Regions from separate parts of the Homo sapiens genome. Here region 2 is linked to region 1. The links are contacts of gene promoters, found by promoter capture Hi-C in human tissues and cell types (Jung and others, 2019). All regions are on one chromosome and are shown on one strand. Each heading gives the region's core, a stretch centred on a gene start or on the middle of the fragment in contact. The rest is flanking DNA. Distances are from core to core; before and after follow the strand shown. Region 1 holds the start of PCBP3 (poly(rC) binding protein 3). Region 2 overlaps PCBP3 (poly(rC) binding protein 3).

Region 1 (3,269 bases), core at 646-3,145:
GGCCTCCCTCCCCTCCATTCTCATTCTCCCCGAAACCGCCAAGCGCGTCCAAAGCACGGGTTCGCCAAGCGCCCCCCCCGCCCCACTCCACATTCCCTTCCCCGCCGACTCAGCCTCCGTAGCTCGCGGACGGCCCCTCCTCACGCCAGCCCAGGCTTTTTTTTTTTTTTTTTCTTCTATTTTAAGGTTGTCTTTTAATGACACAAGCGACATTTGGAGACAAAAGGACACATCTCTTCCTGACCCACCTCCAACCCCAGCTGACGGCCGCCCTGAGCCTGGCGTAGACGGCCCGGAACGTTCCCTGCGTGGGTTCCGTCCATCCCGAACCCCTGTCCCCGCGCCGGCTCCGGGGGTGCTCGGGGGGCCGCGTGGGGTCTGTGACGTCGCCTCGAGGCTGCATCCCGGTGACCCGGCAGCCCCTGGCGCTCGCGGGAGGCGGGCGGGCGCGGACCCCAGGCTTTAGGGCGCGATTCCTGCAGCTGGCTGCCGGCCCGAGGTTCTGGGGTGTCTGAGGTCTCGGGCGGGGCGAGGACGTTTCTCCGGCTCAGCCCCCCCACCTCCTGCCCTGCCGCCCCCCACACCCAGCTCCCCACGGACGCCAAGAGGCGCCTCCCACCCCGGCGAGGACCCGCGGGGAAACGGGGCCCAGGCGCGGCGACTGCGGAGGACGCGCCTCGGCCCCAGCGCCCTGGTCCTCGGGGCGTCCGGCTGCCCTTGCCCGAGGCCGGGGCGGGCGCTCAGCGCCGCGGAAGAAACGCCCGGGCGGGGACGCACAGCGAGGCGGGCTCCGCGGGAAGTACCGGGAAAACGGCGCGGAGCGGAACAGCCCGGAGCCAGCCCAGAGAAAGGGCGGCCTCCCCCTGCAGCCCCCGGGGCCCAGCAACGCCCCGCCCCAGGCCACGGCACGCGAACGCCGGGCGGGCGGAGGGGACAGGGCGGCGGGACCAGCGCGGGGCGGGCAGCGTCTGGGCACAGGCTCACGAGCCGCTCGGGGCCCCTGCCCGCCGGGCGCTGCGGCCCCAGCCTCCGGGCCGGGGCCAGGCCCACAGAGAACGGGAAGCGGGCGCTGCAGGGGGACCTTCGGGGTTGCGGCACGGCTGGGAATTCAACGGCCATTCCCGTCCCGTCGGGCCCACCCGCCCGCCCGCCAAATCCCCGCCCACCGCGGATCCGCCCCGTCCACCAAGGTCTCGCTCACCAACGGCCCGCCCCGCCCACCACAGGCCTGGCCCGCCCACGAAGGCTCGCCCCGCCCATCCACGGCCCTGCCCACCACAGGCCCGCCCCAAGCCTGGGCCCCGCCCCAGCAAGGGCACTAATCCCCTAACCCCCGAGCCCCGCCCACTGCTCTTGCCCTTCTCCCGCCCGCCCCGACTTAGGCCTCTCCCCGGCCTGGCCTCCCGTACTCAGCCCCGCCCCTGCCCCGCCCCCACCCCACCCCAAATGTGACCTGCCCCTCCCACTGCCCGTCCCCTCCCCGCTTCACTTCATTAGGCCCCCGCCCCGATTCTTGCCCCGCCCGCTCAATGTCCCGCCTACGACCCCGCCCACTACTAGTGACCGGCCCGCCCGTTCGAGGCCCCGCCTCCTCCCCGCCCAATGCTCGGCCCCGCCCCGCGCGTCATTGGGCCAGGTCCCCGCCCCGCCCCCAGCCCCACCCCCGCCCCTTTGACTGGAGTTGGCTTTTTCCAGAGAACTTTCCGGGCTCGGATTGGCCGCGCCGGTTGATGTTCCGCCCTTTCATTGGCCCGCGGCGCCCGCTTTCGCGAGCCTGCCCTTGGGCGGGGGCGGGGCCGGCGGCGGCGCGCGGCGCTAGATTGGTTAGCGGCGCAGAGGGGCGGGCCCGCGCCGCGCGCAGCGCTCGGGCTGGAGCGCCTGAAGCCGCGACCGCCGCCTCAGCCGCCTCAGCCGCGGTCGCCGCCGCTTCGGCTGACTTAGGCTCCGCCGCCGCCTCCTCACCCGCCTCGCCCCGACCCCGCCCGGGCCTCCCGGCCTCTCCCCGCCGGCCCGCGGGCTCGCCGTCCGGCGCAGGGCAGGTGAGTGAGCGGTGGCGGGCGGGGTCGGGGTCGGGCGCCCTTGCGGGTTACGGGGACCCAGTCCCCGACGGAGGCCGAGTGACGGGGCGACCCCGGGCCGCGGCAAACTTCGCCCGAGCCGGGGCGGGCGGGGGTCCCGGGCTGGGTCGCGCCGTCCCCGACCGCCGCCGGCGCCTGCGGCGGCCCGGGGCAGCGAGGGGACTCGCGCTCCCTCAAGGTGCGGTCGCCAGGCCTGGCCCGCCCGCCTCCGCCCCCTCCCCAAATTCGGAAGTTGCGGCGGGAAGCCGAGAACGTCTCGGATGTGGGTCAGAAAACGTCTGGACTACTTGAGGCTTCAGTTTCAAAACGGCACAAATTTCATCTCTTGATTGAGAAGAGATCTGGGGAACACCCCGGAGCGGCCGCGGCGGCTGGAGGGCGGCGGGGCGGGGCGCGGGGCCTCCTCCCCCTGGACGGCCGCCGGGAGAGCGCGGCCTCACCCCTCGGTGACCCTGCGGAGAGCCGCGCGCGGGCGGTGGGGCGCGCGCAGGTCTCTCTTGTTGCTCGCTGTGTTTTATTTTAATTTTGGGGGTGGTTAGAACGTGTTTCTTATTGTCCCCACACGTGTTCTAATTGGAAGTCTTGTTTCGTGAAAGAGTTTTTTTCTTTTTTTTGCCTGGTGATGTTTTCCAATTCCCTCCGCGCCACTCTGAAGTATATTACTGGCATAAGAAATTTGAAAGTTAACCAAAAGTCGGGTCCTAAATCTCGTGGCTCGGGGTTGGTTATCTTCCACCGTCCTTCAGAGCAGCCTGGATTTGCAGGTCTTGTTAGCCCTCCATGTGAGCCAGTAGCACTCTTAGTTGTTGAGTGTTTGTAGAGTGGGATTCGCCAGAAGGAATCTTGAGCAGCAGGGCCTTGCGGAGAGGCCTTTAGAGATTAGACTGGGCAACTTATAGACTCCCCCCATTTCAAAAATATTCCTCTGGCACAGGCCCTCACATATCCCTCTGAAATTGAACTCACTTTCAGGGGCAAACTGTTGCCCTTTTTCTTTTCTTTGGACTTTCTCAGATGTGGATCCCAAAGGAGTGTGCAAGGGTGCTTCCCTATTTAAGAGAACTAACTCCCAGTCCTCCTCATATTCAAGAATAATTCATCATCTTAAAGCGTGTCAGAGATACCTATTTTGGCCCCAAAAGGAGTGTTTGTAGAACAGTGGCACTCTAAAGGGATCATTTGCAAGATCTG
Region 2 (2,853 bases), core at 239-2,738, 91 kb after region 1:
TTTTAAAATATGTTTTTGGCTTGTCCCATCCCCTGCTTCTGGGTCTCCAATTACACATATATTTTTGTCTTTTGGGAGTAGAGAATCTTTATCTGTGTTTTATTTTAGGTAGTTTCTGTCTGCACAGATTATTCTGTCTGTACATTGACTGATCTTTTCTTTTGTGGTCTAATATGGTGTTAATCCCAGTCAGTATATTTTTTTAAATCTCAGATGTATTTTTCATCTCTGCATGCTTGATTTGTGTGTTTTAAAAATACTTTTCTTGTCTCTCCTTAGCATTTTATGCTTTCCTGTATCATCTTCTACATATACAATGTATTTATGATAGATGTTTTATTTATTTATGTATTTATTTTTTGAGATGGATTCGCTCTGTCGCCCAGGCTGGAGTGCAGTGGTGCCATCTCGGCTCACTGCAAGCTCCACCTCCTGGGTTCACGCCATTCTCCTGCCTCAGCCTCCCAAGTAGCTGGGACTACAGGCGCCCGCCATCATGCCTGGCTAATTTTTTTGTGTGTATTTTTGGTACAGACGGGGTTTCACTGTGTTAGCCAGGATGGTCTCGATCTCCTGACCTCATGATCTGCCCGCCTCGGCCTCCCAAAGTGCTGGGATTACAGGCATGAGCCACCGTGCCTGGCCTATTTATTTATTTATGTATTTATTTATTCAAATGGAGTCTAGCTCTGTCACCCAGGCTGCAGTGCAGTGGTGCGATCTTGGCTCACTGAAGCCTCTACTTCCTGGGTTTAAGCAATTCTCCTGCTTCAGCCTCCCAAGTAGTTGGGATTACAGGTGCCCACCACCACGCCTGGTTAATTTTTGTATTTTTAATAGAGATGGGATTTCATCATGTTGCTCAGGCTGGTCTTGAACTCCTGACCTCGAGTGATCTGCCTGCCTCTGCCTCCTAAAGTGTATAATAGCTGTTTTAATGTCTTTGTGTACTAATGATCTCTGTGTGTATAATTTCTGAGTTTGTATCTTACTGATCAACCAATCTCATTATGAGATATATTTTTGTGCTTCTTTGCATGCCTCGTCAGTTTTGGACGGATGAAAGACATCGTAAACTTTGTATTGTTGGACTCTGCATTCTTTTAAAATATTTTGAACTATGTTTTGGAATGCATTTAAGTTACTTGGAAAGTTCAGATTTTTTGGCAGCTTGTTGCTGACTTTGTTAAGCATTGCCTAGTGTAGTACCCCAGCTTAGTCTGCTGCCAGTGCAGTCATTTGAGTGCTCAGTGTGGTGTCCCCTGTACTGCAAGGCTCCTGCAGCCTAGTTGTTGGGAGTAGGAACTCTTCCCAGATCTGTGTGAGCCATAGCTATTGTCTGTACTTTTTCTTTTCATTGGTTCTTCCCCCGACCTCCTGTAGTCCACTCACTCACATGTGCCCATCCATGTCCAGGCAGAGACTAGAGAATCCACCACAGACCTCTGGGATGTTTCTCTGTGCAGGGCATTCCTTTCTGGTACTCTGCCCTCTAATTCTAGCTTTTGCCTCCTGTGCTGTGGGGTCCTGAGTGCAGTGCATCCTGATGAGACGGTGCTGCAGGCCCAGCCCACCGACTTCCAGAGATGTCAGTTGCATCTCTCCCCTTTCCTCTCTGCCTTTGCCTCCCTGAATTCTCAACTCCGTTTCCAACTCCCCTGGCCTTGCCTGGGTTCCCCCTTCCTGTGCTGTGGCCCAGGCACTCTCCCCAGGCTGTAGGCTGCAGCAATTGTAGGATGCAACCCATTTGCTTCCCTTCTCTGGGGATCGTTGTCCTGTGCTGCCTGCTGCTCCATGTCTGAACACCCTCGTCTCATATCTTTTGTCTGACTTTTAAGTGAGGTGGGAGAGTCATCCCAGTCTCACTCTTTCTCTGTCACAGCTGACCATGGTCCAGGCTTTCTTATGTTTCTGTAGTCTTTGGACATCACTGGACAGAGGCCGGCTGTCTGTCTGTAGGAGTCTCTGCGCGGTGTTCACCTGCTAATTCAGTCTGCACAGGGAGAACCCTTGGCCTGTGGTCCAGGTGAAGGCCCTTCAGGGTGGAGCCGAGACTGTGGGTGTTCTGGGCTGTCCCGTCCCGTATACTCTCCCTGTGTTCTTACCTTCCCCTATAGATTCAGAGGGATTTGAGAATCAGCTGTGCCCCAGACGTCAGTCAGGCCGAGGACTGTGGGTCAAGGTTCAGGGACCCTGGGGTTCTGAGTCTTTATCAGTGTCGTGTATGTTCCAGACTCAGTTTAGAATTGAATCACTTTTTATGGAATTCTTTCTCTGGGAAACTGTCTTTGACCTTCCCAATAACTGATTTATAAACATGTCTTTTTAATAGATGACTTTGGTTTGATAAAATTTGGTATCTAAGGTGATAGATTGTGATTTCTGTCTCTCTTTGGAAAGCCTATGATTTCCAATTTTAATTGTTTTTTCCTTCAACTGTTTACAGGACTGTCTACAAGAGAGAAGCTCCCCACGTGGTTCCGTGTAAGTAGTGCTTCTTATGATGCTGTCACAGGCGATATTTTTAGACTAAACGACTCTTTCGGTGTCAGCAGAGTTGAAAGTCTTGCTCTCAAGGGAAGCTGTGTGTCTCTGCTGACCCTCTGGATCCTGGTTTTATGTCTCATGGGGAACCTGCCTCAGGTCACACTACTGCCAAGAGCATGTAGTGTGAGTGACACGCGTTTTCCCTTCTTGCTTCTGTGGAACCAAAATTTTAAAAGAGGCAGTTTCCTCCCTCTCTGGTAACCTTTCTCCACAGTTAACCTGACCATGTAGACCAGCAGGAGCTGGAGGGCCAGTTGTTAGTGCACTTGGAGCCTACTGCACGAGCCTACCGCACAAGCCTACCGC

Evidence for each region. Contacts are between HindIII fragments. The study calls those that stand out against the background at their distance.
Region 2: a fragment that was not itself captured here is called in contact with the fragment with the promoter of PCBP3 in region 1 in 8 of the 25 tissues and cell types used here (H1 embryonic stem cells, IMR-90 fibroblasts, dorsolateral prefrontal cortex and 5 more).

Annotation. Positions count from the first base shown.
Region 1 is chr21:45,641,830-45,645,098 of GRCh38, forward strand. It overlaps PCBP3 (poly(rC) binding protein 3), which reads left to right and starts at 1,896. Exons shown (of 18, transcript NM_001384156.1): 1 at 1,896-2,039. RefSeq lists silencers at 1,101-2,090, 2,411-2,550. The HindIII fragment of the contact is 13,348 bases long and covers 1-3,269 here.
Region 2 is chr21:45,732,946-45,735,798 of GRCh38, forward strand. PCBP3 (poly(rC) binding protein 3) reads left to right here. Exons shown (of 18, transcript NM_001384156.1): 3 at 2,447-2,484. Among named protein-coding and RNA genes, the nearest start is that of PCBP3, 91 kb to the left of the region's middle. The HindIII fragment of the contact is 8,113 bases long and covers 1-2,853 here.